2 separate regions of the Homo sapiens genome follow, and region 2 is linked to region 1. Evidence: promoter capture Hi-C in 16 types of primary human blood cells and fetal thymus (Javierre and others, 2016). All regions are on one chromosome and are shown on one strand. Each heading gives the region's core, a stretch centred on a gene start or on the middle of the fragment in contact. The rest is flanking DNA. Distances are from core to core; before and after follow the strand shown. Region 1 holds the start of PTPMT1 (protein tyrosine phosphatase mitochondrial 1). Region 2 overlaps CELF1 (CUGBP Elav-like family member 1).

Evidence for each region. The method cuts DNA at HindIII sites, captures the fragments that hold promoters and counts their contacts. A CHiCAGO score of 5 or more calls a contact.
Region 2: a fragment that was not itself captured here is called in contact with the fragment with the promoter of PTPMT1 in region 1 in 4 of 17 cell types (M2 macrophages, M1 macrophages, M0 macrophages and 1 more); the score reaches 8.1 in M2 macrophages.

What each region holds. Positions count from the first base shown.
Region 1 is chr11:47,563,908-47,568,153 of GRCh38, forward strand. PTPMT1 (protein tyrosine phosphatase mitochondrial 1) reads left to right here and starts at 1,692. Exons shown (of 4, transcript NM_175732.3): 1 at 1,692-1,889; 2 at 1,999-2,079. The coding sequence starts at 1,716. It also overlaps a transcript of CELF1 not described here. RefSeq lists enhancers at 1,203-1,703, 1,704-2,204 and silencers at 1,514-1,993, 2,124-2,203. The HindIII fragment of the contact is 17,352 bases long and covers 1-4,246 here.
Region 2 is chr11:47,480,705-47,484,950 of GRCh38, forward strand. CELF1 (CUGBP Elav-like family member 1) reads right to left here. Exons shown (of 15, transcript NM_001376376.1): 7 at 3,685-3,819; 8 at 2,749-2,828; 9 at 1,991-2,152. Among named protein-coding and RNA genes, the nearest start is that of RAPSN, 34 kb to the left of the region's middle. The HindIII fragment of the contact is 9,324 bases long and covers 1-4,246 here.

The DNA of each region.
Region 1 (4,246 bases), core at 442-2,941:
GGCAGGAGAATTGCTTGAACCTGGGAGGCAGAGGTTGCAGTGAGCTGAGATCACGCCATTGCACTCCAGCTTGGGTGACAAGAGTGAAACTCTATCTTAAAAACAAACAAACAAACAAAATCTCCACCAGATGCTTGGGCCGGGCGTGTGGCTCATGCCTGTAATCCCAACACTTTGGGAGGCTGAGGCTGGCAGATCACCATAGGTCAGGAGTTCAAGACTAGCCTGGCCAACATGGTGAAACCCCATCTCTACTAAAAATACAAAAAAAAAAAAAAAAAAAAAAAGAAAGCCGGGCGCGGTGGCTCATGCCTGTAATCCTGGCACTTTGGGAGGCCAGGGGGATGGATCACCTGAGGTCAGGAGTTTGAGACCAGCCTGGTCAACATGTTGAAGCCATCTCACTAAAAATACAAAACTTAGCTGGGCGTGGTGACATGTACCTGTAATCCCAGCTACTCGGGAGGCTGAGGCAGGAGAATTGCTTGAACCTGGGAGGCAGAGGTTGCAGTGTGCTGAGATCACGCCATTGCACTGCAGCTTGGGTGACAATAGTGAAACTCTGTCTCAAAAACAAAAAACAAAAAACAAAAACTCCACCAGATGCTTGGGCCGGGTGCAGTGGCTCATGCCTGTAATGCCAGCACTTTGGGAGGCTGAGGTGGGCGGATCACCTTAGGTTCGAGACCAGCCTGGCTGACAAGGTGAAACCTCGTCTCTACTAAAAACAAAAGTTAGCTGGGTGTGGTGGCATGCACCTGTAATCCCAGCTACTCAGGAGGCTGAGGCAGGAGAATCGTTTGAACCCGGGAGGCGGAGGTTGCAGTGAGCTGAGATCTTGCGACTGCCCTCTAGCCTGGGCAACAGAGTGAGACTCCGTCTCAAAACAAACAAACAAAAAGTAAATAGCTGGCATTACAACCATTCTTCTTACCTTTTTGTAGGTTGCAGGTTTTATATTTGAGCTCTTCATAATATTTTTCTTAAGGATATATTAATATAATGTATATTTTCCTATTTTTTCCTGCTATGTAAACACTGCTGTTTGGTCAGATGAAGGAGGGAGCCCTGCCCTAGGACAGGGGAGGGGAGGAGGAAGGCGACCTCAACCCAGGACCCCTGTTCACCCTGGGATCAGGCCCTCACCCAGGTAGCTCCTCTGTTTGAAAGCTCTAAGCCCTTCCACTGTCCTCTTCAGGGCTACCCCGCCACACAGCCTCTCCTTGTCTTGTCTTCCCTTTGGCGGGGTCACACCCGCACCTGGGTCACTGCCCCCTTCCTCTGGTCGAGGGTTGGGGGGAGTGTCCCCTCCTCCCTCGGCCGGAGTCACAGTTCCACACGCAGGGGTCCTTCCTGCCCCTCTCACCTGGGGTCACAACCCCCCTCCCTCGGAGGAGGGAGGTCACCGGCCACAGGCGGGGGCCTCAGTTTCCCACGCTACAGGGCTCACACGTGTCTGGCCTGCGACGCGCTCTCCCTTCGCCGGGGTCCCAGTTTCCCGCCCAGGAAACCTCGGTCCCTCCTCCGAGGCCGCCGGGCCCTCCTCCAGAGTCCCGCCAGTCCCCCAGAGTCCAGGCCAGTCCCCGCCGTCACCCGGTGCGAGCCCGCGAGAGGCCTAGTGCAGCTGGCAGCCCCGCCCCGGCACCCGCCTGCTCTTCTCGCGGGTCCGGACCGCGAGCGCGGGGGCCGACGGGTCGCCGCTGCGCCGGGCCGGGATGGCGGCCACCGCGCTGCTGGAGGCCGGCCTGGCGCGGGTGCTCTTCTACCCGACGCTGCTCTACACCCTGTTCCGCGGGAAGGTGCCGGGTCGGGCGCACCGGGACTGGTACCACCGCATCGACCCCACCGTGCTGCTGGGCGCGCTGCCGTTGCGGAGCTTGACGCGCCAGGTGAGCCGGGCCGGGGAGCCCGGGCCCCTGCCCCGTCCCCGCCGCTCCGTCCCTGTCGGGCCGCTGGGGTCTCCACCGTCTTTGCTGAGCCACCTCTTTGCCTCGGCAGCTGGTACAGGACGAGAACGTGCGCGGGGTGATCACCATGAACGAGGAGTACGAGACGAGGTTCCTGTGCAACTCTTCACAGGTGAGGGACCGGGCCGAGGGGCAGGCTCGGGGGCCCGCTCCCCCTCGCCCACCGCCCTGAGCCTGGGACGGCTAGAGAAGTGTGGGGGAGGTCACCATGCACCGGAGCCAGGTGTCTCAAGCTGCTTTGCCTCCGGTCTGTGCCTCTAAATGGCACCTGGAGGTAGGCTAGAAGCTGTGAAAGGCGTTTATTTAAAAGTTCAAGTTGGGCCGGGCGCGGGGACTCACGCCTGTAATCCCAGCACTTTGGGAGGCGGGAGGAGGAGGCGGGCAGATCACTTGAGCCCAGGAGTTCCTGACCAGCCTGGGCAACATGGCGAGGCCCCCGTCCCTACAAAAATACAAAAAGTAGCCGGGAGTGGTGGCGTGCGCCTGTACTCCCAGCTACTTGGGAGGCTAAGGCAGGAGAATCACTTTAGCCCGGGAGGTGGAGGTTGCAGTGAGCCGACATCTCGCCATTGCATTCCAGCCCAGCCTTGGGCGACAGGAGTGAAACAATGTCTCAAAAAAAAAAAAAAAAAAAGTGGAAGTTGACAAAGCCTGATTTCTCCTTTGTGAACAAATGTAATGTATTCTTATTTCGGTAACCAAAATCAGAAACTAAAATTGAAAGGCAACTTTCCCATGCCTTCCTGATTTCATTCATTCTTTCTATACTTTGAGCTCTGAGTATGGGTCAGCATTCCCAGTGTTAGGGATTCCAGATGAAGGCCCTGCCAACTGTAAGACGAAAAGCACCCCCTTAACACTCTCCCCTCCCCAGATTTTTCATAAAACTATCCATTGAAAACTGTAGAGTTCATTTGGCTCTGATTTGGGGGAATTTTTAGTCATATATTAGAAATCATGGTGGAACTCCAAAGTTCTCTCATAACAAAGTTTAGGCCTAAAACATAACTTTCATTAAATGTGACTGGCCTGTTTGTGGAATCTTCCACAATGGTTATTAGAAGATGTTATCTACAATCTGAGCTATTTGATTTTTTTTTAATGTTGCCCTATCTTTATAGCGTTTGGCATCTAATAGCACTAAACAATTATCTTTCTCATTTGTTTTACTGATATAGCATGATGAAGATACTATTATTTCAACCTGAGGATTTTTTTGAAACCTTGAAAATATTTGTGACTTGGCCAGGCGTGGTGGCTCTCACACCTGTAATCCCAGCACTTTGGGAGGCTGAGGTGGGTGGATCACCTGAGGTCAGGAGTTTGAGATCAGCCTGGCCAAAATGGTGAAACCCCGTCTGTACTAAAATCACACAAAAAAATTAGCCGGGCGTGGTGGCAGGCGCCTGTAATCCTAGCTACTTGGGAGGCTGAGGCAGGAGAATCGCTTGAACCCGGGAGGCAGAAGTTGCAGTGGGCCGAGATTGCACCACTGCACGCCAGCCTGGGCGACAGAGTGAGTCTCCGTCTCAAAAAAAAAAAAGAATTACTGATCTTCATTTAGAACCATAAAGTCTCTGATACTCATTATTAAGAGGTTAATAACAAGAGTAGCTGGAGCATATCTGAAGTCTTAAAGCATAAAGTTTGCCCAGTTGCCAGAGACCTTATTTCTATTTCTTTTCTTTTTTTTTTTTTTTTTTTGAGATGGAGTCTCACTCCCTTGCCCAGGCTGGAGTGCAATGGTGCAATCTCAGCTCACTGCAACCTCTGCCTCCCAGTTCAAGTGATTCTCCTGCCTCAGCCTCCCAAGTAGCTGGAATTACAGGTGCCTGCCAGCATGCCTGGCTAATTTTTGTATTTTTTATGGAGATAGGGTTTTGCCATGCTGGCCAAAGTCGTCTCGAACTCCTGACCTCAGGTGATCTGCCCACCTTGGCCTCTCAAAATCTGGGATTACAGGCGTGAGCCACCACACCTGGCCACCTATTTCTTCTAAGTGATAACATTGCACTAATGAAGGTCAGTGCATTGTTTTAATTTTATTTTTGTTTTTGTTTTTGAGACGGAGTCTTGCTCTGTCGCCTAGGCTGGAAGTGCAGTGGCACGATCTCGGCTCACTGCAAGCTCCGCCTCCTGGGTTCATGCCATTCTCCTGCCTCAGCCTCCCAAGTAGCTGGGACTACAGGCGCCTGCCACCATGCCCGGCTAATTTTTTTGTATTTTTAGTAGAGACGGGGTTTCACCGTGTTAGCCAGGATGGTCTAAATCTCCTGACC
Region 2 (4,246 bases), core at 1,182-3,681, 82 kb before region 1:
TATAAGCAATGTTTCAGCACTAAGAAACAATTTTTTCTGTTGAAATATAACCGGACCCAGTGGTTCACGCCTGTAATCCCAGAACTTTGGGAGGGCAAGGTAGGCAAATCACTTGAGGTCGGGAGTTTGAGACCAGCCTGGCTCACATAAGCAAAACCCTGTCTCTACTAAAACTACAAAAATTAGCCAGGCGTGGTGGCACATGACTGTAATCCCAGCTGCTTGCAGTTGGAGGTTGCAGTGAGCAGAGATTGCGCCACTGTTTTCCAACCTGGGCAACAGAGCGAGGCTTCAAAACAAAACAAAACAAAACAACCCCAACTCTTTATATTTTTTTAAAAAAACTTCAGAGAAATACTAGCTAGGATAAACTGGGGTTTTTTTTTTTTTTCTTCTTCTTTTTTTTTTTTTTTTTTTTTTTTTGTGAGACAGAGTCTCGCTCTATTGCCCAGGCTGGAGTGCAATGGTGCGATCTTGGCTCACTGCAACCTCCGCTCAGTGCAACCTCCGCCTCCCAGGTTCAAGCCATTCTCCTGCCTCAGCTTCCCGAGCAGCTGGGATTACAGGCACCTGCCACCACACCCATGTAATTTTTTTGTATTTTTAGTATAGACAGGGTTTCACCATGCTGGCCAGGCTGGTCTCAAACTCCCAACCTCAGGCGATCCACTCACCTCAGCCTCCCAAAGTGTTGGGATTACAGGCGTGAGTCACAGCGCCCGGCCTAAACTGGGATTTCTTATAAGATATTAGAAATATGAAAACCACTGGAACTAAACCAAAATTCAGTACTGGGAGACAGAAATCAGTGCCTTTTGTCTGTTTCCATACAGAATAATACTTGAAATGATGAGGAATAAATGACTATACTAGCTATTTCTATGTGAATATTTTTGTATCATCCATACAAATCTAGTGGTTTCACCATTAATAGCCTAAGATGACCTTTTTCCTCTTTGACTCACAAATGGGTGGTTTTAACTGTCTTGTGCTGGCCCAATTCTTTTCCATTAATAATCCCCTGTAACATATACACTGCAGACCTAGTAAATCTAAATCACAAATTGGGGCGAGACCTTCTTTTGGACTAGACAACCTTCTTTTGGCTCACGACAACAGAGAGATCAAATTAAAGGAAGTCTATTTACAATGTAGTAAACTTGAATATACACCTGTAATGCTCATTTAAAAATGTTCATGTTAATCTCTTGATCTCCGCCAGGCGCAGTGGCTCACACCTGTAAACCCAGCACTTTGGGAGGCCAAGACAGGTGGATCACCTGAGGTCGTGAGTTCGAGACCAGCCTGGCCAACACAGTGAAAGCCCATCCCTACTAGAAATACAAAAATTAGCTGGGTGTGATGGTGTGTGTCTGTAGTCCCAGCTACTTGGGAAGTTGAGGCAGGAGAATCACTTGAACCCGAGGTGGAGGTTGCAGTAAGCCAAGATTGTGCCACTGCACTCTAGCCTGGGTGACAGAGTGAGTGAGACTCCGTCTCAAAAAATAAATAAATAAATAAATAAATAAAGCAAAAAAAGAAAAAAAATCTCTTGATCTCTCAAGTCCGCTGAAAGAAACATTTATCATACTCTTTAGGAAAGACTCAATAAGGATTTTAATGATGCCCTCTACATCTGGTAGAAAGAGATATGGAGAAAGACACTGGTAGTTAAGATTCCCTCAGGAATTTCTTTCTTGGAGGCAAGGACACAAGATGTTTCTAAATCTTTAAAACGGGAAACCAGGAATTCACTTTAGTTGCAGCAAAAGCCTCAAGATATAACCAGAGATGCATGTCCAGAGATACATATATATAGAGAGAGAAAGAGACTAACAGGACTAAAAGAAATAGTACTACCTGAATTTTTACATATAATTTCTATATGCCAAAAGTTGTAAATGCCACTGTGTTTGTTGGCTAGGGACAGCAGAAGAAGGAACAGCTGGGAGCTTGCACAGTCTGCAGAAAGCAAACCACAAAGACTCACTGCTAAATACTGGGGTCCAAGAGTATTTAGACCAGCAAGGTTTCCCCACACAGATGCTGCGCTGATTTGCTGCATCTGCTGCTGGAGCTGCTGGGCCATTCTCTTCTGTTCTTTGTCCTTCTGTGTATCAGCAAATTTTACCACCATGGGTGATGAGCAACCCTGTGAAAAGACCATAACGAAAGGGTCAAATTCCTCCATCTGAAAAGAAGAAAAAAAATCTTCCTTTTGGATGACATGCAGGTTACATTCTAATTTCATTCACTGCCAAATGATTCTCCTCATGATAGACACAAGAGAGAAGAGACTGTAATCCCAACACTTTGGGAGGCTGAGGCGGGTGGATCACTTGAGCCCAGGAATTTTAGACCAGCCTGGGCAACATGGCAAAACGGTCGCTATTAAAAAAAAATACAAAAATTAACTGGGCGTGCTGGTGTGCACCTGTAGTCCCAGCTACTTGAGTGGCAGAGGTAGGGGGGATCACTTGAGCCTGGGTGGTTGGGGCTGCAGTGAGCCATGATATTCCCACTGCACTCCAGCCCAGGTGACAAAGTAAGACCCCATCTCAAAAAAAGGGGTAGGGAGAGCATTTCCAATACGTTAATTTTAAAGAAATCAGTGGTTTTTAACTTTAAGATGTTGGCTGTTTAACCTTCTGGGCAATCAGATGCTGCACATGCTGCTGGACTTTAATGGCCAACTGTCCCAGCATTCCCAAGCTGAGGAATTTTCCCCATCACCTATCTGCTCCCTACCTCCATGGTCTGTGCTTGGTGCATTGCCTTGATAGCCGTCTGTGCCATGGCTCTTGTTGTAAAAGTCACAAATGCACAACCTGGTAAGAGAAGAGTCAGTAACTCATGCATTCATTTATTTCTCTGACAAACATTAACTGAGCACCTACTATGTGCTGACTATCATGCTAGCAATACAGACACAGTCCCTGTTTTCAGGGAATCATGTGCTGGTATGTTGCAACAGGGTGATATGTGCTATAATGAAAAAACAGAACCACTGACAGAAAAAAAAAATGCTTGACAGGAGAAAGGAGGACTCATATCCTCTAGTTCCTCTTGAAAATAAAAGAAAATGGAAGAAGAAAGTATTTCCATTTTGGCATCAAGGATCTTGCAAAGCACCAAAAGAGAAAATTTTAATACATGACAATGAAATATAGAATGTAGACTCCTTAGAGGGGCTGGGAGACAAAAAGAATGAACTGATAGGAGGAGTCAAGACAGGACATAGATATACAGCAGGAAGCAGCAGGCCCAACCTCTTTATCTTGACTGGGCCATATTGGCTAGGGAATCACTGTTGCTAGTTTCCACCGGTCAAATTAAAAAGATTCCAAGCCCGGTGCAGTGGCTCACACCTACAATCCTGGCACTTTGGGAGGCCAAGATGACAGGATCGTTTGAGTCCAGGAGTTCAAGACCAGCCTGGGCAACACAGGGAGACCTTTTCTCTATAAAAAATTTAAAAATTAGCTGGGTGTCATGATGCATGCCTGTGGTCCCAGCTACTCAGGAGGCTGATCCTGGGAGGTTCAGGCTGCAGTGAGTTGTGAAGGCACCACTGCACTCCAGCCTGGGTGAGAGAGAGCAAGACCTTGTCTCCAAAAAAAAAAAAACCCCAAACCAAACCAAAACAAAAAACCAAAAGATTATTTAAAAGCTAAAACTACCTACCTCGGCTCAGGCCATCAGGTCCCCGCAATATCCGGCATTCTTCAATCTGTCCAAACGAAGAGAACATGACTCGGATGTCATTTTCAGTGCACTTCTTGGAAATCATACCAATAAACAGCTTCCTGTCTTCCACTGCTAAGAGAGTAAAACAGAAAAGACTTGAATATTACTACTTAAAGAGGCAATGTGGCACAGATTTGGGAGCCAGACCGCCTGGGTTTGAATCCTGGCTCTGTACCATATTTTACAGATTCAAAGACACACATTTGTTTTTTGTATTTTTCACATCTCTTTTTTTCTTGTTTTTGAGATGGAGTTTCGCTCTTGTTGCCCAGGCTGGAGTGTAATGGCGCGATCTCGGCTCACCGCAAGCTCCGCCTCCCGGATTCAAGTGATTCTCCTGCCTCAGCCTCCTGAGTAGCTGGGATTACAGGCATGCGCCAAAATGCCTGGCTAATTTTGTATTTTTAGTAGAGATGGGGTTTCTCCATGTTGGTCAGGCTGTTCTTGAACTCTCGACCTCAGGTGATCCACCCGCCTCGGCCTCCCAAAGTGCTGGGAT